Linked DNA regions of Homo sapiens: regions 1, 2, 3, 4, 5 and 7 are each linked to region 6. Evidence: promoter capture Hi-C in 16 types of primary human blood cells and fetal thymus (Javierre and others, 2016). All regions are on one chromosome and are shown on one strand. Each heading gives the region's core, a stretch centred on a gene start or on the middle of the fragment in contact. The rest is flanking DNA. Distances are from core to core; before and after follow the strand shown.

What was found. Contacts are between HindIII fragments. The CHiCAGO score rates a contact against its expected background, and 5 or more counts as called.
Region 1: a fragment that was not itself captured here is called in contact with the fragment with the promoter of FXR2 in region 6 in 1 of 17 cell types (total CD8 T cells); the score reaches 6.2 in total CD8 T cells.
Region 2: a contact is called between a fragment that was not itself captured here and the fragment with the promoter of FXR2 in region 6, in 2 of 17 cell types (naive CD4 T cells and erythroblasts). The highest score is 7.3, in naive CD4 T cells.
Region 3: a contact is called between the fragment with the promoter of ALOX15B here and the fragment with the promoter of FXR2 in region 6, in 1 of 17 cell types (activated CD4 T cells). The highest score is 5.1, in activated CD4 T cells.
Region 4: a contact is called between the fragment with the promoter of SLC2A4 here and the fragment with the promoter of FXR2 in region 6, in 1 of 17 cell types (fetal thymus). The highest score is 5.5, in fetal thymus.
Region 5: a contact is called between the fragment with the promoter of CTDNEP1 here and the fragment with the promoter of FXR2 in region 6, in 6 of 17 cell types (naive B cells, fetal thymus, total CD8 T cells and 3 more). The highest score is 9.2, in naive B cells.
Region 7: the fragment with the promoter of DVL2 here is called in contact with the fragment with the promoter of FXR2 in region 6 in 5 of 17 cell types (fetal thymus, neutrophils, total B cells and 2 more); the score reaches 7.5 in fetal thymus.

What each region holds. Positions count from the first base shown.
Region 1 is chr17:8,056,983-8,060,211 of GRCh38, reverse strand. No RefSeq gene overlaps it. Among named protein-coding and RNA genes, the nearest start is that of ALOX15B, 20 kb to the right of the region's middle. RefSeq lists enhancers at 2,465-2,534, 2,018-2,535. The HindIII fragment of the contact is 2,579 bases long and covers 482-3,060 here.
Region 2 is chr17:8,119,631-8,122,659 of GRCh38, reverse strand. HES7 (hes family bHLH transcription factor 7) reads left to right here. Exons shown (of 4, transcript NM_001165967.2): 3 at 230-317; 4 at 623-2,068. The coding sequence ends at 1,089. TRL-TAG1-1 (tRNA-Leu (anticodon TAG) 1-1) reads left to right here and starts at 2,265; the gene lies at 2,265-2,346. It overlaps TRR-TCT2-1 (tRNA-Arg (anticodon TCT) 2-1), which reads right to left and starts at 1,735; the gene lies at 1,648-1,735. TRQ-CTG1-5 (tRNA-Gln (anticodon CTG) 1-5) reads right to left here and starts at 2,908; the gene lies at 2,837-2,908. RefSeq lists silencers at 480-589, 810-1,269, 2,210-2,419, 2,790-2,879, 3,010-3,029. The HindIII fragment of the contact is 3,122 bases long and covers 1-2,833 here.
Region 3 is chr17:8,036,944-8,040,369 of GRCh38, reverse strand. ALOX15B (arachidonate 15-lipoxygenase type B) reads right to left here and starts at 1,311. Exons shown (of 14, transcript NM_001141.3): 1 at 1,068-1,311; 2 at 765-984; 3 at 387-468. The coding sequence starts at 1,214. The HindIII fragment of the contact is 10,323 bases long and covers 1-2,515 here.
Region 4 is chr17:7,280,468-7,283,605 of GRCh38, reverse strand. It overlaps SLC2A4 (solute carrier family 2 member 4), which reads right to left and starts at 1,888. Exons shown (of 11, transcript NM_001042.3): 1 at 1,639-1,888; 2 at 245-361; 3 at 1-133. The coding sequence starts at 1,671. RefSeq lists an enhancer at 655-1,642 and a silencer at 1,775-1,924. The HindIII fragment of the contact is 20,977 bases long and covers 1-3,138 here.
Region 5 is chr17:7,249,854-7,252,983 of GRCh38, reverse strand. CTDNEP1 (CTD nuclear envelope phosphatase 1) reads left to right here and starts at 1,250. Exons shown (of 8, transcript NM_001143775.2): 1 at 1,250-1,789. The coding sequence starts at 1,688. It overlaps ELP5 (elongator acetyltransferase complex subunit 5), which reads right to left and starts at 769. Exons shown (of 8, transcript NM_203414.3): 1 at 388-769; 2 at 154-214; 3 at 1-66. The coding sequence starts at 433. RefSeq lists silencers at 113-352, 1,123-1,332, 1,403-1,522 and enhancers at 383-602, 471-1,059, 1,060-1,647. The HindIII fragment of the contact is 9,547 bases long and covers 1-3,130 here.
Region 6 is chr17:7,613,087-7,616,374 of GRCh38, reverse strand. It overlaps FXR2 (FMR1 autosomal homolog 2), which reads left to right and starts at 1,478. Exons shown (of 17, transcript NM_004860.4): 1 at 1,478-1,923. The coding sequence starts at 1,843. It also overlaps a transcript of SHBG not described here. RefSeq lists silencers at 1,234-1,283, 1,394-1,923. The HindIII fragment of the contact is 2,190 bases long and covers 506-2,695 here.
Region 7 is chr17:7,232,607-7,235,923 of GRCh38, reverse strand. DVL2 (dishevelled segment polarity protein 2) reads left to right here and starts at 1,407. Exons shown (of 15, transcript NM_004422.3): 1 at 1,407-1,855. The coding sequence starts at 1,662. It overlaps PHF23 (PHD finger protein 23), which reads left to right. Exons shown (of 5, transcript NM_024297.3): 5 at 84-886. The coding sequence ends at 298. RefSeq lists an enhancer at 1,210-1,259 and a silencer at 1,370-1,669. The HindIII fragment of the contact is 14,867 bases long and covers 1-3,317 here.

The DNA of each region.
Region 1 (3,229 bases), core at 522-3,021, 440 kb before region 6:
TGGAGGCTCAACAGTGGCCGCACCTAAGAAGGATATCCAATTCCTCTTCGGTCAAATTTAACTGAGACCTCAATCGGCTGGGTTATTCCGTCCTCATTTTTTTCCTAATCCTTTCCCAGGAATATATCCCATTTTGGTCATCATTCTTTGGCTCTCAGGACTGTAAATTGCAGGGGGAATGGTGATTTCTGTACCCCATTGCTGTAACAAATCTCTCCCCTACAAATTAATGGGAATGAAAGTAATCATAGGTTGGATGGTGACTTCCTGCCCATCTGGTCTTAAACGATGTAAAATTGTAGCACTTTGATAGACTTCAGATGCTGTGCCTACTCCAATCAAGCCCATAGAAGCCTTTTGTCGGGGCCACGCTTTTGGCCACTGATTTAGAGCTATAATTGAAATATTAGCACCTGTGTCTACCAGTCCTTCAAACTGTTTTCCCTGAATCATTGTGCACACAGGTCTGTTTTTAGAAGCTTGATTTACTCAATAGGCTGCTTTTCCTTCACTGTCAGTACTGCCAAAACCACTTTCTCTTTTTACTGTACTTTTTTCTACTATTACATAAGGTAATAACAACAGCTGAGCAATTCTATCTCCTGGGTTTGCACTCCAAGGAATACTGGAACTAATAACCAATTGAATTTCTCCCACAAAATCTGAATCAATCAGCCCAGTATGAATCTGAACTCCTTTTAAGTTTAGACTAGATGTTCCTAAAACAAGTCCAACTGTCCATCAGGTAAAGGGCCAAATACTCCAGTGGGGACTTTTTGAGGGGATTTCCCTGGAAGCAGAGAGATAGCTTTTGGGAAACATAAATCTAAGCCTGTACTCCCTGCTGTAGCTGGCGCCAATTGTGTTACTGTGGTGGTTGGGCAAGAGACAATGATGGTGGTTGGACTAGAGGCAATGACCGACTGAGGGACCAACTGCTGGAGTGAGAATGCCCCCGTTTGGAGCGGGGCCTGAGGCTGGCCCCTCTTCCTGTTTCCCGACTGCGGTTGTAACGGTTGGCCATTTTTGTCAAATTTGAAGTGACACTGATTAGCCCAATGTTTACCCTTCTGGCACCTGGGACATAAGCCAGGTGGTTCTTTTATTTGATTATATCTTGCCTGTTTGTTCGATTTGTTCTTACGTTCCTTTTTTGTGTGTCCAAATTGCCCACAATTGTAACAATTGCCTGAAAAGTTTTTAATTGGACCTCCCACTTTTAACTCTGTCGTGGCTTGAACCATTATCATAGCCTTATGCATGATTCCACCAACTCCATTACATGCCCTGATATATTCATTAATCACATCAACTCCCACCGGAACCTTTCCTTTCACTGGGTGAATAGCTGACTGGCATTCAGGGTTAGTATTCTCACAAGCCAATAATTCTACAATCACCTTCCTGGCACTTTCTTTCTTTCTTTCTTTTTTTTTTTTTTTTTTTGAGGCGGAGTTTCGCTCTTGTTACCCAGGCTGGAGTGCAGTGGCGTGATCTCGGCTCACCGCAACCTCCGCCTCCTGGGTTCAAGCAATTCTCCTGCCTCAGCCTCCTGAGTAGCTGGGATTACAGACATGTGCCATCACGCCCGGCTAATTTTTATATTTTTAGTAGAGACGGGGTTTCTCCATGTTGGTCAGGCTGGTCTCCAACTCCCGACCTCAGGTGATCCGCCCACCTCGGCCTCCCAAAGTGCTGGGATTACAGGCATGAGCCACCGCACCCGGCCTTCCTGGCACTTTCATCAGTGAGAGCCTTCTGTGCTGCGTCTTGAAGGCGAGCAATGAAATCAGGATATGGTTCCTTTGAGCCTTGTCTAATAGAATTAAAAGACTGATAAGTAGTTCCCAGATCCTGAATTTTCTCCCATGCCCTCAAACAGCAATTGCGAATTTGTTCAATGGCATCATCTCGAAGTCCTGATGGTTGTTTACAGTTCCCCATTGACCCCCTATTCCTAGAAGTTGTTCAAATGTAATGGCAATAGCAGGATTAGCAGCACGGTTTTTTCGATCTTGATTTTGAGCCTCGTCGGTCCACCAAGTCTTAAACTGAAGAAATTGGGAGGGCGAAAGTGTAACTTTCGTTAAAATCTCCCAATCACACGGAGTCAATAGCTTATTCTGAGCCACAGATTGCAATAGCGATCGGATGAAAGGCGAATTGGGACCATACTGACCAACAGCTGCTTTAAGATCTTTGAGCAGCTTAAAAGAAAATGGTTCCCATACCGCTTGATGGGCTCCACCTTGCTGTCGTGGGGGTTGCAAAACTACTGCAAACTGCCAGGCATCAAGATCTCCGGCTAATCTAGCCTGCCGAATAGTAAACTGTAATGGCGATTCATTAACATTAGATGGCAGTGCAGCCTTATGTTGTACTGGTGCTACACCATGCGCTCGTGGTTCCTGAGGCCACAATTCATTCATTCGTGAAACAGGGCAAATTTGAGATTCAGACCTCCAAGGCTCCAAGCTACATTGCTTTATTGGAGGCGGCCACTCCGGATGATCCCAATGAGGAGCCGACTGCTCCTCAAGGCCCTTCTTTGTTTTAAACATCTTGGCATATATGGCTTCTCTATTTTAGGAGCAGCTGAAGGTCCCACGTGCTCCTCAAAAGAAATTAACTCATCTCCAGGTTTGTCTGTATTTTCCTCAAAATCTTCTTCACTATCCTCTCCTCCTTCAGCAGCATCACCACCTTCCTCTGCAGAAATTCTTTCTGCTGGAGGATAAGCCTCATTTTCCGATTGAAACGGTTCCGAGGCTGCTTTAACTATAGCCCAGTTTGACCAGGCTGTTAGGGGGATAAATTTTCCTTCCTTACAAACTTGTTTTAAGGCAATTCCCACCTGTTCCCAATCTTTGAAGTCCATGGTACCATGTTCAGGAAACCAAGGACGATATTGCTCTACTGTTGGAAACAGAGTAATCAAATTTTCTGTGCTAGCCTTAATTCCTGCCCTCTTTAAGAGGAGCTTAATAAAATGTAAATATGCAGAATGTTTACTTTTGGATTGTCCCATGGTGTCCCTGGAATGCTCCGAGTGCACAAGCTTACCGCAAGGCCGACCACACGTTCTCGGGAGTTCCTGGACAGACCGTTCTTCACAACGACCACGCTCAGGTGTAACTTCACCTGGGTTCAAGGAGACCGTGTTGGGTGCCAAAGATGTAGGGGAACCTGCCTGATACACCACCCGCAGGCTCTCCCCTTCCCGGTGGAG
Region 2 (3,029 bases), core at 23-2,522, 510 kb before region 6:
GTTGGGCATTGGTTCCAACCCCTAGGATTGGACAGTTTCGTCTCAGGGTGGGCCAGGACTTTCCTTGGTCATCTCCACTCCGCATTTGGTCGCGCGTTCTGTGGGCAGTGCGCAAATGCGATCGGGGGCACCACCAGCTCCCGCATCCGTCCCTCCCTTCTTCCCCCTGCCACTTTCCCCCTTTCTCCCCACCCCTTTCTGTCTCTGCGCCCTCCCCTCCCGTCTGTAGAACCTCCGGAACCCGAAGCTGGAGAAAGCGGAGATATTGGAGTTCGCCGTGGGCTACTTGAGGGAGCGAAGCCGGGTGGAGCCCCCGGGTACAGCGCGGGGGTGGGGCAGCGGAGGGAGGGAGGGGGGACGCCAGGAGGCTCCGGCCGGGGCAGAGTGGGCGGGCCCTGCGGTGGATGGTGGGCTTGGGGAGTGGCCGGTTCTGCTCCGAGGCGAGGTTAATAACACCCGCGCGTGTCTGTCTCTGTGTCTCCCTCATTTTCTCCCTCTTTCCGTCCATCTGGCTTCCTGTCTCTGTGCGCCTGTCCGGCCTTGGTATCTCTGCGCCCCGCCCCTTCCCTCACCCCTGCCGGGCCCCTGCCCTGCCCACCTGTGCTCCCGCCGGCCGCACCAGCCGCCGCGGCTCCAGGGGTTCCCCGGTCCCCAGTCCAGGACGCCGAGGCGCTCGCCAGCTGCTACTTGTCCGGTTTCCGCGAGTGCCTGCTTCGCTTGGCGGCCTTCGCGCACGACGCCAGCCCGGCCGCCCGCGCCCAGCTCTTCTCCGCGCTGCACGGCTATCTGCGCCCCAAACCGCCCCGGCCCAAGCCGGTAGATCCGAGGCCTCCAGCGCCGCGCCCATCCCTGGACCCCGCCGCACCGGCCCTTGGCCCTGCGCTGCACCAGCGCCCCCCAGTGCACCAGGGCCACCCTAGCCCGCGCTGCGCATGGTCCCCATCCCTCTGCTCCCCGCGCGCCGGGGATTCTGGCGCGCCGGCGCCCCTCACCGGACTGCTGCCGCCGCCACCGCCGCCTCACAGACAAGACGGGGCGCCCAAGGCCCCGCTGCCCCCGCCGCCCGCTTTCTGGAGACCTTGGCCCTGAGCCTTGGGGGGTGGTGGGGGCGGGGTCTAGGGGTGGGGTAGAGACTCCAGCCCGAGGGCAGCAGAGGGACCCGGGCGTCCGGGCGAGCAGGTGTTGGGGAGGGCAGTGGGGCGCGCGGGCTCAGCGCGCGGGTGAGATGTGGTCTATATTAGAGTATCTATATAAATATATATTTCCCTGGTTCCTGTCCCTTTTCCCTGCCCCAACTTCTCCCTTGCGTCTAGGATTGTACTCTCTCTGCCCCTCAGCCCAGTCCCAGTCCCTTCCCGAGTCCCTAGTGCATGGAATAAAGTGGTTATTAAATCCCCGTGTGTCCCCGAGCCAGGGGCCTGCCTTTATCTCGACGTCCACGCCCACTTTCCCTTCCCTTCTGTCTCCCACCCTCAGTCCTGCTCTCCATGGCCCAAGCCCCGGGGCAGACAGGTAAGTAAAGAAGAGAGCAGAGCGGGAACTGAGATCGAAATTGAAACCAGGTGGAAAGAGAGAGATAGGGTAGGGGGAGAAGGGATGGGGGCCTTTAAGAAAAAAACGGATAAAAAGGAAAAATTGAAATAAAATCGACTCTGGTGGGATTCGAACCCACAACCTTTGAATTGCTCTATTCGTCACTAGAAGTCCAATGCGCTATCCATTGCGCCACAGAGCCACCCGACGAACGGCGGCGTCTTGTAGCTTACGGGTACTAGAGTGGGAATGGGGCAGGGTTGGGGAGCGGGGCTAAGGGACTTGGGCGGGACATGCCAGGAGGGCGCGGTTTGGATCTCAGAGGCCAAGCCAGGTAGAGGTAGCGGGCGCAAAGCATGTTAGCCAGGTGAGAGAGAGGGCGCACATGGGTCGAAAAAACAGGGAGGGAGAGCAACCGAAAATGGCTGAGCGAGCGAGTGCAGAGCTCCGGCTGCCCGCTTGGGGGGTGTTTCCGGCTCAGGCGCTCCCCACTCCCAGATATAGTCCCACCCAAATAAACTAGTTTTGTTGTAAATTTCTGTGTGTTTTTGTCTCTTCTCGTTTATCTGTTCTGCCATCTGCTGCTATGCGGTCCACAGTCTCGATGGTTCTTCATTTCCAGTCTAAAAGATGTGGAAAAGGAGACGAATCAATTTGGCACTCTTAAGATTTGCCCCATTCCTTACTTCTAGTCTCTTAGGAGGACAACGGGGACAGTAAGTTTTCGTGCAGGTAGCGTGGCCGAGCGGTCTAAGGCGCTGGATTTAGGCTCCAGTCTCTTCGGAGGCGTGGGTTCGAATCCCACCGCTGCCAGGCTGGAGTTTTTCTGGTGGATTACGCACCTGCTACAGTTCTGTTAACAGTTCTGTGAGGTTACACCTATTTACATGCAGAAAGTAATTTTACGAATTCCCCTGGTAATGGTTTCACCATCATCTTCCGTGTTTGGTCTTCCAGAGAGATCATAGGCCTGCATCCATCCCAGAAGCTAAGACCTGATGGTAACTGCTGAAGCAATATTTCGTTTCTTCATAACATCTCTATTATTTCGTTTCTTCATAACATCTCTATTTTAACATGTTTTCAAATGTTAGCTCAACTTCCAACATATTTAAATAATTTATTGTACGTTCTCTTAACACTGTGTTATAGGACTCAATTATCCGGTAGGAAAAGCACAAATAATTGGTAGTGTCCTAGTTTACTTTTTTTTTTTGTCGTATTATCTTGGGTCATAGGAGTATCCCCTCTGTGAAAATCAATTAACAATATTCAACATGCTGATATTAAAAGAAAAGCTTCAAGGTTCCACCGAGATTTGAACTCGGATCGCTGGATTCAGAGTCCAGAGTGCTAACCATTACACCATGGAACCTCCCTCGTGGTGTCTTTCAAGATTGTGTACATTACTGGACATTCTATTTTGCGTGTCTTCCACACCCGTCACTTAAAACGAAAACAAAACAAAGTCTGCTGTTGGATATGGTAGACACCGT
Region 3 (3,426 bases), core at 62-2,561, 420 kb before region 6:
TTTCGCCCTGTTGGCCAGGCTGGTCTCGAACTCCCGACCTCCAGTGATCCGCCTCCCTCAGCCTCCCAAAGTGCTGAGATTACAGGTGTGAGCCACCACGGCACCTGGCCCTAGAGCAGTGTTTTTCAAACATCAGTGGCCACCAGAGTCATCTGGAAGGCTTGTCAAAACAAAAATTCCCACTCTACACCCTCAGTGTCGTAGTAGGTTGGAGGTGGCCTGAGAATTTGCATTTCTAATACGTTCCTGTAGACGCTGCTGATCCCAGGAGCAGCTTTGATAGGAGAGGTGGAGGCAGGGGCTTTTAATCTCTGTCATGACCAGGACACTCAAGCTGCCCCTCATCGTTTGGGCACACCCTCCCCCATCAGTAACCCCCTCCTCACTGGTACATCTCCTGCCGGGCCTGAAGCTCCTCCTGGCGCTGTTGCTGGAGCACAGGGTGGTGGTCTGCCCAGGACACCTTGGCTGTGGGAGAAGGGGAGTAGGTTGGGGTGGGGAGAGAAACTCACCATCACTACCACCAGCCACACAGTCTCCACGATTGCCACCCTCTACCAGGTCCCCTCCTCCCATAAGTACAGTTTCTCCTACACCAGGCTGCTACCTCCCGCTCCCCAAGGCTCCGCCATTCCCTCTCCTCTGCCCGCTACTCTGTGGCCACACCAGCTCACCTCTCCATTTCACCTGCCCTTCTCCCCAACCCCCAGTCCCCTACCCCTTCCTGTGCTCCCCCTGCAGCCCCAGCCCGGCCCGCCCCTCACCTGTACCCTCCTGCAGCACCAGGGTCCCCGCCCCCTCCAGCCACTGGTAGCAGGGGAAGAGGAGGTGGCCGCCCCGCGGCGGTGTCAGCTGGAACCAGCGGCAGAACCAGGCATCCGGGGCCAGGGGCCCCAGCAGGGGCAGCACTGGGGGCGCCTTGTGCACGCGCAGCAGCAGCACTCGGCCTACGTCCTCCGGGAGCGTCACCTGGAAGTCCTCCTCCTGAGGGGAGGTTAAGTATGCGTCAGGCCGGACCCTCCTGCTCGCCCCCTTCACCTCCACCCCATCCACTCCCACGCACTCACAGCGCCCGCAGTGAACTCCTTGCCGAGATTGTCCAGGGGCAGTGGGGGGCTCTCTCCCCGGGTCCCCACGATGCTGACAGACACTTTGTCCCATGTGCCAGCCCCGAAGGCTTCTCCGGTGGACACCCTGACCCTGAACTCGGCCATGCTGCCAGCCTAAGTCCAGCTCTCTACGGCGCACAGGGCTGCAGAGCGGGGCTCCCCCCTGGGACACGCCTGGTTATTGCCCCTGGTTATTGCCACTGACTCCAAGCCCAGTGGACTCCTCTAAAAAGCACGTCCGTTTCAGGGCGGGGAGGGGCGGGGCGGAGAGGCTGGAACACGCAACTAAAGTGGGGGTGGGCGGGGGATTGGCAGCGCTGGGAACAGGAGGGACTAAGAATACCCTGAGGTTTGGGGAACGGGGCCTTTCAGTGGTGGTGCCAGGCCAGAGAGCCTAGAGTTGGGACCCAGTTGGGGTGGGGGTAGATTTGTGCCCACCACGTCTGTTTGTTTTCCTTCTTAGCCTTAGAAGTCTATGCAAAAATATCACCCCATTTCCCACAACTCTTCTTGGGCCTGCGTTCATTATTTTTAAAATTTATTTATTTATTTATTTTTGAGACAGAGGCTTGCTCTGTCGCCAGGCTGGAGTGCAGCAGCATGATCTCGGCTCACTGGAACCTCCTCCTCCTGGGTTCAAGTGATTCTCCTACCTCAGCCTCCCCAGTAGCTGAGACAACAGGCGAGTGCCACCATGCCCAGCTAATTTTTGTATTTTAGTAGAGACGGGGTTCCACCATGTAGGCCAGGATGATCTTGATCTCTTGACCTCATGATCCGCCTGCCTCGGCCTCCCAAAGTGCTGGGATTACAGGCGTGAGCCACCGCGCCCAGCCTACATTCATTATTTTATTTCATTCAATAATTAATGTTCAGAACTACCTCTGTGCCAGGTGCTATGCTCACTGCTATTGATAAAGGCCCAGGCAAGACCTAGTGCTTGCTCTCATGGAGATTAAAAATCAAGTGTGAGGCCAGGCACAGTTGCTGGCCAACATGGTGAAACCCCATCTCTACTAAAAATACAAAAAAATTAGCCAAGCGTGGTGGCGGGCGCCTGTAGTCCCAGCTACTCAGGAGGCTGAGGCAGGAGAATAGCTTGAACCCGGAAGGCGGAGGTTTCAGTGAGGTGAAGTTGTGCCATTGCACTCCAGCATGGGCGACAGAGCAAATCTCGGTCTAAAAAAAAAAAATCAAGTGTGAGAGAAAATAAGTAAACCAACACATAATTTCAGATGATAATAAGTGCAATGAAGGAAATGAAACAGACTAATGTGAAGGAGTGAGAAGCAGAGGTGGGAAGGGAGGCGTTCAGAGCCTCAGAGGAGGTGAAAGGATCTGTCTGGGGAACAGAGTTTTGTGCAGAGGAAACTGTTCCTGAAGAGGCCCTGTGGTTAGGAAAAGCTTGGCTTGTTGGAGGAGGGAAAGGCAAGAGTGCAGTGAGGGAGGGATTTGGGGGAGAGATGCCAAGGGGAAGTTATGGATTTGGGCTTTGGGGGAATAACATAACAGATTTGGGGTTTTCGGTCTGGAGATGCTAAGTTTGAGATGGCCATTAGACATCCAAGTGGAGAACCCACGTCTGGGCATAGAGCTCAGGACTGCAGGTGTGCATCTTTGAGTCACAAGCACACAGGTACATCTATACCACAGGCTGGTGGAGATCACTAGGCAGAGAATATCCTATAAGTAGAGAAGAGAAGAGGCACAAGCTGTGCCCTAAGGTCCTCTGATATTTGGAAGTCATGCAAAGGAGTGGAAGCAGCAAAGTTCAGTCAATGAGGTAGGAGGAGAACGATGCCGGCAGACACTTTGTCCTCTTGTGCCTGTCACAGTGTTTCATGAAAGCCAACTGAAGTGAGAGTGACTTATCATGTATATTCCATATATACCATGGAATACTATACAGCCATGAAAAAGAATGAGATCATGGTCAGGCATGGTGTCTCACACCTGTAATCTCAGAACTTTGGGAGGCTGAGGCAGGCAGATCACGAGGTCAGGAGTTCGAGACCAGCCTGACCAACATGGTGAAACCCCATCTCTACTAAAAATACAAAAATTAGCTGGGTGTGGTGGTGACTGCCTGTAATTCCGGCTACTCAGGAGGCTGAGGCAGGAGAATCATTTGAACCCGGGAGGCAGAGGTTGCAATTCCAGCTACTCAGGAGGCTGAGGCAGGAGAATCACTTGAACCCGGGAGGCGGAGGTTGCAGTGAGCCAAGATCGTGCCACTGCACTCCAGCCCTGGTGATAGAGCGAGACTTCGTCTCAAAAAAAAAAAAAAAAAGAATGAGATCATGTCCTTTGTGGGAAC
Region 4 (3,138 bases), core at 639-3,138, 330 kb after region 6:
AAATCATGCCGCCCACGGAAAAGATGGCCACGGAGAGGGCCCAGAGGGTGGTGAGGGTGCCTGGAGGGATGGAGCTGGGTCCCTCAGGCCCCTGCCTCCCCAGCCACGTCTCATTGTAGCTCTGTTCAATCACCTGGGGGACAGCAGAGGACAGATTTCCTGCAGACCGTCCCCTTTCCACCACCCCCGAGACACCTGTCCTCCTCGTTTGGGTACCCCCACCCTGCCAGCTGCAGGCCCTCACCTTCTGAGGGGCATTGATGACCCCAATGTTGTACCCAAACTGCAGGGAGCCAAGCACCGCAGAGAACACAGCAAGGACCAGGGTCCCAGTCACTCGCTGCTGAGGGGGTTCCCCATCCTGAACAGGCAGACACAAAGACACAGCATGTCACATGGAACCATGATTTTTTTCCTTCCGCTAGGGGCCCGGGCCCAGCTGGAGCCTGAAGATACTGGGCTCCACCCAACATGTTGGGTGAGGGAAACTGGGCCATATTAGGAATTGCACAAAGATCTCAATGTAAACAGGAGCTGAACTGCAACCTGGGCATAAAGGAGAAACTGGATGTTTGGGTCCATAAGGCAGAGAAATGTTTGAGAACTTGTCTCAAAATTCTTCTGTGACCTTGAGACAGGCTTGGCCTTAAGAGCTCAGATTTGTGTGACCTTGGCCAAGTCACTTCCCTGCCCCGAACCTGAGTGTCCTCTGTGAGATGGGGGTGATGTTGCCTGCCTTGCCTACCTATCTGTGAGAGTGTTGTGAAAATCAACATCACATGTTAACAATATCCTTGACAGTGCTGGTTTCATAAATTAACACGTGCATTATTATCATCAGCCACTGTCCTCTTCCCTCCCCTCTGGGGGTTCTGTCAGCCAGCTCCAGGAGGCCCCCAACAGGACCAAGAAGTGCTGTTCCAGAAAGGACATCCCGGTCATCTAGGGGTGGCCTTCTCTATCTACGTCGTGGCCTGCCCTCCCCCTCTAACCTCCGTGCAGGGAGGGCCGTCCAGGGGTTCTGCCTGGGAGAGCCATGCCCAGGGGAGGAGGGCAGGAAGGTAGTGTGAGGGGCGGTGGCAGTGGTGGCCGCTCGCTGGCGGCACAGACTGTCTCCAAGCGGAAACCTGAGCTGGAGGAGGGGGGGCTGACAGTCCCCTCTGCCCCTCCACCAACCATGGGGCCAAGGGAAAGTTCAGCGTCCTGGAGGGCGGCCAGGAGTGGGGGTGGGGGCCCACGGAGAGCCTCCGGTCCTCGAAACACTGCCCGTGAGCGAAGACGGACGGACAGCTCCCGGAGGGCAAGACCCGCCTGGATCTGCTTTCCCGAGTCGGATCGAGGGCAGGGTGTCCCCGATTCCGGAGCGCCGCGCCGCCTACTAGGCAAGGGGGTGAACCCTGGCTCGCAGAATCCACTTGCTGCCTGTGCCCCGAAAGGCCCTCCAGACCCACTCTGCCTTTTGGTAGGATTGGAATCTCACAGTCACGGGTTGTCCAGGCCGGGTATAAATAGCCAGCCCCCTACCTTCACCCCCTGCGCCTGCGCAGGAACCACCCCCAGCTGACCCCAACCGCGACCCCAGCCCAAGAAAAGCGGGACCCGTGCCCCCCCGCCCCGCCCCCTCATGATGAATCCTACTTCGGAGCCTATCTGTTGGAAGCCCGACGGCATCTCGTCTTAGAAGAGCTGGACGCGCAGGGGCGGCGAAGATGAAAGAACCGATCCTGGAGTCTCTGACTCCGGCCTGGAGCGCAGAACCTGCGGAGGCCGCGGGGGTCCCGGAGTGACGTGCGAGGGCGGGCCCGATGGGACCCACAGCCACAAGCCAAGGACCCGGAGAGCAGTGGGGCTCCCGCGGATCTGGTGGAGCGGGGCTGGGGGAAAAGACGCGAGAAGCCCCCGCCACCTCGCTCCTGCCCCCGCGGGCCACGCCCTTCACAGCACCCATTGGCCAGGAGCCCGCACACCCCAGAAGGCCACGCCCCCTCCGCCTGGGGTTTAGAGTTTGGCTGGAGTTGGTGGGGCGGGCCAATGAGGCCACGCCCCTCCGCGTGGCTGGCGAGACACGCCTCTCGGGTTCCCGCCAGCCTCCGACTGGGAAGTTTTGAGAAAAGAGTCCCTGGAACAAAAGGCCCCGCCCACCCACGTGTTAGGACTCCGCCCACCAGCTAGGATCCCGGGCTGCAGAAGCATCTTAAACTCTGCGGGTCTGGACAGTGGGGTCTGAGAGGAGAGGACGGGCCAGGTGTACTTGCCCCGGGGAAACTCCAGCGGCCTGAGACGGCTCGCGAGCCGGCGCGCGGGTTGGGAGAGGAGCAATGCCCCAAAGTAACCCGGGGCTGCTATTTTTAGCTCCCACGTTGGGAGCCTCCAAATGTCAGGTCCCGGGCGTCCCGGCCTGTCCCAGGCGGGGGCGGAGAGACAGGGAGATGACGCCTTAAAGAGTCCGCGACATGCTTCCCACGCGAGTGTGGCCCTGGGGGCCAGGAAATTCCGTTCCCACAACGGGTCTGGTGGCCGGGCTGCTTGGTCCTGTCTTTCAGCGCCTCCCTGCTCCGGGCACTGTCTATCCCGCCCTTCCCCTACACACATTCCCCAGGTTGGTTCCTGGAGCCGGTCCGAGGGACAAGTGGTCACAACCGACCACACCACCAGCCCTGAGGTCTCTGAGCCTCTGAGGTCTCTGAGCATATGCTGGCCGCGTGAACGACACGCTCTCTGGAGGCTGCTCCGGGTTTGGATCCTCGGCCAAATTCTGCCAGGCAGAAAGTGCGCGACCTAGGGTCGGCGTGTGGGGAGAGAGAAGCCGAAATACCCAGAGCGTGGAGAGTGTCTGGCTCAGAAAACGGGCTTCGGAAGCGCAGGGTTGTGCTGCCACCTGGAGGGCGAGCGAGGAGCCGCAGTGGATTGCACTTGGAATCTCAACCCACTATTTCTCGCCTTTCCGCCACCATAGGGCTTCAGTGACATCTGACCCAGGCCCTTCTCTGGAGCTGCAGATCCAGGTGTTCGTTACCGCCCGGATGTGGCAGCTCTAGTGATCAGCATGTCCAAACCTGCTCCTCCTCCTAACTTCCTTATTTCAATGAATTACCCGCCCAGTCACCCCTATGGTAGAAGTCAGGCTCGATTCCTCCT
Region 5 (3,130 bases), core at 1-2,500, 360 kb after region 6:
GAGTCAAAACCTTCACGAAACTCTTCCTCGCTCACTTCACAGCCCAGGATATGCACTTGCTCCCCACTAAGGCAGAGATGAGAAGGGATTGTCAAAGAGTGGGCACAGGTGCCCTATCCAGGGTAGGCCGGGGAGACACTGTGGGATACTCACCACAGTGCAGATTTCTTGACAAGCGCCTTCAAGAGACTGCGCCCCTCCCACTCCACGGAATCTGCAGAGCGAGGGACGGATAAAGGGTATGAGAGCGCTGGGATTACCGCCTTCGCGAACCCGTCGCGATTTCCACACCTAGCCTGTGACCCCTGGCCCTTCCTGCCCACTTCCGTCCCCTCAGCCAGGCCCGAACCGCACCCCCCGCCCCGCCACCGTGCCTCTGGCTCTCACCCCGAAGCAGCACCAGGCCGCCCAAGGCCAACAGCGAGTCCAACATCTCCAACTCGCGTCCGGTCCCTGCTCTGGCGCCCTCTGATGGCGTCATGACCCAGTGTCCTTCCTCCTCGGGGTGAAACGGGCCGAGCACTCGGGCGTCCTCCCACCATTAAGACCTAACATAGTCTGGAATGAGAGGTGATTATGTTCAATATTCCCAGGGGGGCGCTCACGCGGAGGGCGCCCCTCCCCGAGCCCTGGCGCACAGTCGTACGGACAACGACCCCGTCTACATTTTCACTGTGACCGGGGCGGGAAGAGCAGTTGGGGCAGTTGTCAGTGGGAGGGGGAGGAGGACCCACAAGCCCCCCGCGAGGGCCCTAAGCGCGGGCCAAGTGACGTCACTCTCCCCGCCCACGCAGTTTGAGGCGGGGCCTGCTTCGCCTCAGGCCCCGCCCCGCGGCCACCTTCTGCGCGTGCGCAATACTGCAGCCTCGCTTGGAGTGCTTTTGGCTTTCCTTATACCTACCCGCCATAGACCGCGCAGGAGGAACTTAGTCCCGGTGAAGCGAATACACGTCACCACCGGAAGTAGTGTCAAAGGGGAAGAGGAGGGGGAAAGACAGGAAGAGGGAGTCCTTTGGACGGTAAAATGGCGCCTGTCAGAGTGGGAAACCCAGCTGCAGAGGCTGCAGCCCCGGTCCCCAGCGGCTAAAGGACCCCCGAGCTCGGGGAGGGGGAGGCCGCTCCGGCCCAGCGCTCTGCGCCCTCCGGCTCCCCCTCCCCCTCCTTCCCTGCTCCTTCGCTCTGCAGGCCCGTTCTCCGCTGCCGCGGCCCTTTGCGCGCCGCTGCCCCCGCCCTCCCCGTTCCTGCGAGCAGCCCCCTAGCGCGCCTGCGCAGCGGGCCACTCTCTGCTTTCCCCCCCTCCCCTTCCCTTTTCCCTTCCTCCCTTTTCCCTAGCCCCCTCCCCCACTGCCCCCTCCCCCAATTATCCTTCCCCTTCCCTCCAGGTCTCGGAGGACCCCATCCTAGCCCTACCTGTCTCGGCCCGCAACCTCCCCGAAGCCGTCGGTGCCACTCCCAGCCCATGTGGGCCCCCGCGGGCTGCCCACGCCTGTCCCCCAGCTCCCCGTTCCGCTGGGCTTTACCCTCGCCAGGGGTGGCTTTCTGAGCCGCCCGCTCCGTGCCCCTCTCTGCAGCCTCTCCTGCCACTCGGGGCCCCCGTTCCCCCTCCCGGCGGCGGGGGGCTGCCCCCGGGGGGCTGGCGGAGCTGGGCCGCGGGGGCCCCGGGGCCGGCGGTGCCGGGGTCATCGGGATGATGCGGACGCAGTGTCTGCTGGGGCTGCGCACGTTCGTGGCCTTCGCCGCCAAGCTCTGGAGCTTCTTCATTTACCTTCTGCGGAGGCAGATCCGCACGGTGAGCCAGGGTGGGCGCTGGCGGTGTTGGGGACGTCTGGCGGTGTTGGGGACATCTGTCCGTGGTGCTCAGGGGTTTTCGGAGTGTCGGGCCTCTGTTTGGGCCTAGGAAGGGAATCCTGGCTGGGGCTTTTCTCGCCAGAGAATTGGGCACCCTAAGCGGGGCGAGGTGGGAGACCCTTGTAATAGAACCTTGCCCTTGGGGGTTTTGATGGGGCTAGATGGGACAGGATTTGGCAACTCTTGGGGGCTAAGGTGGTGGGTGGGGCGCTCTTTAAGAAAGCTGGAGTTGTTGCTAAAGAAACCAAGAGGCGGGGAACACCTGTTTGATGACAGCCGGATCTGTGGATGTGGGCTTGGGAAAGACCCTATTTGGAACCTCGGTGTGTGTTTGGTCCTATAACAAGGAAGAGACAGACTTGTGTGTCAAGGGTGGAGGTGGGTGGGAGGGCATACGTTACAAACAAGGACGGGAACTTGGGAAAGCCCTGGGTGTGAAGGAGAAACGCCTGCGGTTCCCATTAAGAGAATTCCTCCAAAAAGGCTGTGAAAATTTATTTCATAGTGTGAGTGTAGGTATCTGGATTTATTGAAGACTAAAGCAGATGCTTTTACGATGGGCCTCTTTAATTGTGGGAGGGAGTTCAAGGTGGGTGCTGTGCCCACCATTGAAGTTTGGGTGTCCCTGTCAGAGGACAGCGCTGGGCAGTTGTAGGGCTTGAAAATGAGGACGTTTGCTTCTCCAGGAGAGCCTAGCATTCTGAGGGAAACTGTCCGGATGGACCCAAGCATCTCTGGGTCCCCTCTCCCTTAGCTTTTCTCCAAGGTCAGAGGTCCTTCAGCTAACAGCACTTTAAATGAATGTGCTCTTGTGGTCTCACCACCACCAGGGAGAATCCTCGGAAGGAGTCTGGGGAGAATTTAGTAAGCGGAGACACAGGTTCTGGGTCTGTACTGTGGTCTGTACCCCTTAGCATACCTCAATACAATTTGAAAGAATAAACCCAGGTTGGGGTGACCTGGGGTCCAGAGAATTTCCAGAAAGCCCTCAGTGGTAGTGGTGGTTGATTTAACTGATTTGGGAGAATGGGTCTGGCCTTGGGTTCATTCTGTCCTTTACCAGTCTGCTTCCACTTCCTGATTTAGGGCGCGAACAGTACAGGATGGTTGTGGCTGTAGGCAGCAGCGCTATTCCCCCGAGACAAGAGCTAGGAGCCAAGAAAAATTTAGGGTCAGAGATGCTGGGATATGTGTGGGGCTATCTCCTGGGGTTTTCTTTTCTTTTCTGAGACAGTCTCGCTTTGTCGCCCAGGCTGGAGTGCAGTGGTGCCATCTCCGCTCA
Region 6 (3,288 bases), core at 229-2,728:
CGGCCTCCCAAAGTGTTGGGATTATAGGCATGAGCCACCGCGCCCTGCCATTATTATTATTTTTAAAGAAGAAATTTCACTCATTGCCCAGGCTGGAGTGTGGTGGCATGATATCCACTCACTGCAACCTCCACCTTCCTAGGTTCAAGCGATTCTCCTGCCTCAGCCTCCTGAGTAGCTGGGACTCCTTCCGAGTAGCTGGAACTACCACGGCTAATTTTTTGTATTTTAGTAGAGACGAGGTTTCACCATGTTGGCCAGAATGGTCTCCATCTCCTGACCTCGTGATCCGCCCGCCCGTGATCTCGGCCTCCCAAAGTGCTGGGATTACAGGCCTGAGCCACCGCGCCCGTCCTAATTTTTGTATTTTTAGTAGAAACAGGGTTTCGCCCTGTTGAGGCTGGTGTCAAACTTTTGGGCTCAAGTGATCCACCGCCTGAGCCTCCTAAAGTGCTGGGATTACAGGAGTGAGCCACAGCGCCCGTCTGAAACTATTCTTAAAGCTTTCTTTCTATTCTTTCTTTCTTTTTTTTTTTTTTTTGAGACTGAGTCTTGCTCTGTCGCCCAGGCTGGAGTGCAATGGTGCGATCTTGGCTCACTGCAACTTCTGCCTCCCAGGTTCAAGGTAGTCTCCTGCCTCAGCCTCCCGAGTATCTGGGATTACAGGCGCGTGTCACCACGCCCGGCTAATTTTTGTATTTTATTAGATGCGGGGTGGGGGGGGGGGTGGGTTTCACCATTTTGGCCACGCTGGTCTCGAACCCCTGACCTCAGGTGATCCGAGGACCTCAGGTGATCCACCTGCCTCGGCCTCCCAGAGCGCTGGGATTACAGGCGTGAGCCACCGCGCCCGGCCAAAACTTTCATTGTATCACAATCTCTTCAAGGTAAGAGCCATGACTGTTAAATCTACTACAGTAGAGAGTTACAGATTCTTAAAATATCGGCGATGCATACGCGAAGAGGGTAAAGCTCAGCGCGTGCGCACCAAGCACCTTTTTCCTTGCGGCGACTCCTCTTCTTTTTTTTTTCTTTTTGGAGCGTGCGCACCAAGAAAGACAAAGGTGGGGAAAGTGACCAAGCAGTCGTTCAGGCGCATGCCCATCCCTAACTTGTCCAAGCCCGGTGGGGCCAGCGGCGGCGGAGTGGGTGTGGCCTGAGCGCTGTGTGACTGTGCGGACGCCGCCCAATCGGACTGAGCGAGCCCGGCCCCTCCCTCCCCCTGATTGGTTGGTTCTCAGTGTTGTGGGGCGGGGAAAGGAAGAGACGGGGTGGCTGGGCGGTGGAGCGGTGAAGAAAGAAGGCTAATCTTGTTCTGCGCAAGCGCTAGCAAGCGACCAGGAGGGGGAGTGAGAGAGTGAAAGGGAATGTGGAAGCCCCGATGCGCTAGCTGGCGCTAGCTGGGGCTCTAACCTTGACGCCTGCGCGGTGGCCCTCGGGGCCCCGCGCGCAGCGGGCGGGTGCCCGGTGCGCCTGCGCAGTAGGCGGCGGTGGCAGGGGGAGGTGGAGGCTGTGGAGCGGCAGCGGCAGCAGCGGGTCCCGGGACTGAGGCAGCAGCGGGGGCGGCGGCGGGCGGAAGCTGAGGTGACGAAGGCAGCGGCGGCGGCGGCCGTTTCCCTCACGGTGGCGGAGACCAAGGCGGCGGCGGCGGACGGGGAGCGGCCCGGCCCCGGCCCCCTGCTCGTTGGCTGTGGCAGGGCCGCCGTGGGGCCGGCCCGGCTCCCGCCCCCCGCGGCTCCCCCTCCGGCTCCTCCTCCGGGGAGACGCCGGGGGCCTGGCCCGGCCCGCACTCAGACTGCTGCTGCAGCCGCCGCCGGGGGAGTCGGAGGCGGTGGCGGCGCCATGGGCGGCCTGGCCTCTGGGGGGGATGTGGAGCCGGGACTGCCCGTCGAGGTGCGCGGCTCCAACGGGGCCTTCTACAAGGTGAGACGGCGCGCCGACTGGGGACGCCGGTCCTTAGCCCCCTCCCCTGGCCGGAGCAGGAACGCGTGGGGCGGGATCGAGCTTCTGGAGCTGAGTCCTGGCCCTTAGAATCTTGGACCCTTGCTCCAACCCGCAGCCTTCCCTGGGAGACCGCTTAGAGTGAACCCTGTTCCTCTTATTTTTGACCCCTCTAAGGCACCTGCACCTGCTTCTACCCCCATCTCCGGGAGAATGAACTTCAGGCCATTATTGTCCCTGGCTTGGCGCTCCCCGCTCCGCAGGAGAGACCCCTTTACCCAGCTTCTAATTGACTGTGTCCGTTGTCTGGTGGAAGACATACCTTAGACCTTAATCACATCTTCCCCACGATCCAAGCACATGGAGAATTGTCTTTCTTCCACACGGTCCCTTTGGGAAGGCCCTCTGTCCCGTAAAAGATCCTTTCATCTTCCTCAGAGAGGCCTCTGCCTACTGGCTCTGGAACACTCACCCCACTTTCATCTTATATTCCGGTTCCCAAGCCAAGGAGAAATGGTCAGATCCATTTACGACGTTTGGCATCTTTGACCTCAGGAACCCTGGGTTGGATCAGTCAAGTTGCTTCCCAGCCAGCCATAAGGTGGCATCTTTCGCAAGTCTCTCTCCCCACCACACCTTGATCTCAAGACCCACTGCTCTACCATTCTACTCAGGAATGGATTTGAGGTCTCACTTAGACCTCAGATACCTTCAGGTCATTCATATAGTTTCTTCGTCTTGAGGCATGTAAGCTTCATAGTCATAATCTCTAAAAGGATCTCTGAAAGGAAGCTTATGAGGTTCCCTTCTGTTTATCTTAAGATTTCCACTTCTTGAAGACTCTTGGCCAACTATCCCAGTTCGGGAATCTGACAACCTTTTTTGGAAGACGGGATCATCTTTCAAAGACCCTTCCTTATTTCACCTCCCCCTTTGCCCAGGATTTGGTTCCTTAGAACTCCTTATAATACCACCTTCCTTATCTGCTCTGAATCTATTTTCTAGGACATTTTTTTCCCATTTAGATTAAGCCAGAGAGAGCCCTTTCTTGCCTCCCAAGAGTTTTTCTTTGTGTGACTGTTGGTATTCTGAACCTCTTGGATTTGATGCCTGGAATTGTCCTAGAGACTCTCCTGATTTCTGTCTCATTCTTTGATTTCACCCTGGGGAGCTGGGGAAGAGATACCTTCCCATGGCATCACTTGTTAAGAGTGGATCCCCCTTCCCCCTTTCCTTCAGTTCCCCTCAGGCCTTTTTCCCCCACTGTAGTCCTCTCTAGTTTCTCATGCCCTTGGAAATGTCTTTCTTTGACTCCTTCTCTAAGTCATATTTTTCTATAACTGCAGA
Region 7 (3,317 bases), core at 158-2,657, 380 kb after region 6:
GGTTCGGGCTGGGGCGAGGGGTTTGAGGGTGTTGTGGATCCAACAGCTCAGGCAGAATACCAAACAAACCTTTTTTTCCCCAGGTGATGACTCATGGGATCTGATCACATGTTACTGTCGAAAGCCCTTTGCAGGGCGGCCCATGATTGAGTGCAGCCTGTGTGGGACGTGGATCCACCTCTCCTGTGCTAAGATTAAGAAGACCAACGTCCCCGACTTCTTTTATTGCCAGAAATGCAAGGAACTGAGGCCAGAGGCCCGGCGGTTAGGGGGGCCTCCCAAATCTGGAGAGCCCTGATGGCACCAACTTTAGCCTGGAACTTCCAAATGACAACATGATTTGGGAACTGAGCCTCAGGGTCCTCAGCCTATCCCCTGGAGCTTGGATACTGTCTGCACTTCAAGGCAGGAATTCTCAAGGGAGACTTGTTTGAAAATGAGTGTCTCACTTTCCCACCCTATCCTTCCTCCCCACTCTGTGGACTTGAAATTGAATCCATTACGGTTGGGGATGGGAGGCTGTCTGTGTCCCGACACATAATCTCTGTCTCTTGGACCTGCCACCATCACTTTCTGGGTCAGGATTGGAATTGGGATGGAATGGGACAGTTGTCTATAAAACTCTAGTGTAAATATTAGCACTCCCCTCCCTCATCTTTTCTTCTATTTCACTCCCCATTTATTTTCTTCTACACCGGTTGTATTTTTAATTTTGGACTTCCCCTATTGGGCATGGCAGCTCAAAGGTGGAGTACTAGAGCCTGGCCAAGTGAGGAAGGAAAGCAGAAAGGTGACGATTCTCACTCACCTCTTTTGTTTTTAATAATATCGGCCGCTGTTTGTACAGACAGCCTGCGTGTTGTAAATAAAGCAGAGTGGGCTCTTTTGTGTTTATAGCCCTCACTGTCCTGCTCGGGAGGGAGGCTTTGGTGGCTGAAGACTAGCTGGAGGTGGGGCTGAAACCCACGTCTCAAAGTCCAATCTGAAGATATCACAGCACTGGGCCTTTCCCACCCCAAGACAAGTAAGCCACCTTAGAGCTTTCATTGTATTTGGCCCTCCCCACTCGAGTCTAGGAACCCCCACAGTCCCCACCTTCACTCCCTGCACGCACACTCCTGCGGGTCAGAGTTGCTTCGTGCTCCATCGTGGGTGGGGTAAAGCGGGGTGGGAGCCGATGGTCCGTTTCCTGAAGGCACAGGCCAGCTTAGCCTGGGTGCTCAGAGGACCTCGGCTGGGGTACACGTTTGGGGGCTGGGAGACCGTTGCTGAAGGCAGCGATCATGTGGCGGGGGCACTAGGCGGAGTCAGACGGTCACGTGATTGGGAGGGGATCACGTGACGGAGGGCGGCTGAGGAGCGCGGGGTGGCTGCCTTTAAGTCACGTGACATGAGGAGAGGTGGGCGGGTACCTGGAGGAAGCTCGCGGCGTCGGTGGCGGTGGCGCGCGGCGGCCGCTGAGACCGGGGCTTTGAGTCGCACCCCGCGGCCCGCCCCCCGCCGCCACCCTCGCAGATCCGTGCTTTTTCCCCTTTGCTTCTCTCCCGTACTGGGTCAGTCCTGTCCGCGCTCGCGCGTCGGTTTGCGGGTGTGCGCAGGCGCGGCAGGGGCCATTAGCCCTTTGGGTGGGCGGTGGAGCCCGGGAGCGCGCGGGCGAGACCATGGCGGGTAGCAGCACTGGGGGCGGTGGGGTTGGGGAGACGAAGGTGATTTACCACCTGGATGAGGAAGAGACTCCCTACCTGGTGAAGATCCCTGTCCCCGCCGAGCGCATCACCCTCGGCGATTTCAAGAGCGTCCTGCAGCGGCCCGCGGGCGCCAAGTACTTTTTCAAGTCTATGGATCAGGATTTCGGGTGAGCGCAAGGCCTAGATAGGACCGGCGGGGGCTTTGCTAGAGTGGATTGGGCGACATGGAGGGGCACACGTCTACTTTGGGCCACACTGGGATTTTCTGGCCTATGGTGGAGCAGATTGTACTATGCTGAGGTAGGTTGACTATCCCAGGATGGACAAGGTTATGCTTGGATAGATTGAGGCACACGGACAGACTAGGATATCCTAAACCAGATTAGACAAGATTAGGCTTTACTGGAATAGGTGGGGGCATACTGGTTTATGTTGGAGTATTCTAGTCTGTACTGAGTAAATTGATCCATTGTCTGGTTGTTTAGTACGTTCTCAGGAGTCCTGTAACGCCTGTAATCCCAGCACTTTGGGAGGCTGAGGCGGGCGGATCACGAGGTCAGGAGATCGAGGCCATCCTGGCTAACACGGTGAAACCCCATCTCTACTAACTAAAAATACAAAAAATTAGCCGGGCGTGGGGGCACGCGCCTGTAGTCCCAGCTACTTGGGTGGCTGAAGCAGGGAGAATCTCTTGAACCTGGGAGGCGGAGGTTGCAGTGAGCCGAGATCGCGCCACTGCACTCCAGCCTGGGCGACAGTGCGAGACTCCGTCTCAGAAAAAAAACAAAAAACACTTGGGCCATTATGGACTCTACTGGGTTGTATTGGTTAATCCTGGTTTCTCTTGGGGCAAGACTTGGTTTTATTGGAGCACTCGGTATAGGGGCAGACAAGGCTGTTGGGGCCTGTGCTAGCACAGGCAGCCGTATTGGGATGTTCCAATCTAGACTGGTGCAGACAGCTGCGTGTGGGGGCATTGTAGGCTGTGCTAGAATAGATTGGGCTATCCTAGGGTAATTTGGGACATTCAGGGCTATCTTGGACTAGATTGGCGTGTAAATAATGCAGAGAAAGCCCTTTTGTGTTTATGGTCTTTGGGGCTGAGCCTTCTGGGTCCTCAACCTCTGCTTTTTTTTTTTTTTTTTTTTGAGACAGTCTCGCTCTGTCGCCCAGGCTGGAGTGCAGTGGCGCATTCTCAGCTCACTGCAAGCTCTGCCTCCCGGGTCCACGCCATTCTCCTGCCTCAGCCTCCCAAGTAGCTGGGACTACAGGCGTCCGCCACCACACCCGGCTAATTTTTTGTATTTTTTAGTAGAGACGGGGTTTCACCGTTTTAGCCAGACTGGTCTCTGACTTCTGACCTCGTGATTCGCCCGCCTCAGCCTCCCAAAGTGCTGGGATTACAGGCGTGAGCCACCGCGCCCGGCCCAACCTCTGCTTTTTTGAAGGCAGGCTGGATTAAGTTGGGATAGCATGGGTTTTAGAAGAACTGAACAAACTGGACTCTAGCTAGAAAGATTGTTTGACATGGGGATGCTGATACTATCTTGGGAGTTATCTTGGCTTTAAGGCAAGGTTTTTCTAGTTGTCAGCAATGTAATCTTGGACAATTTATTTAAATTTTGTGTC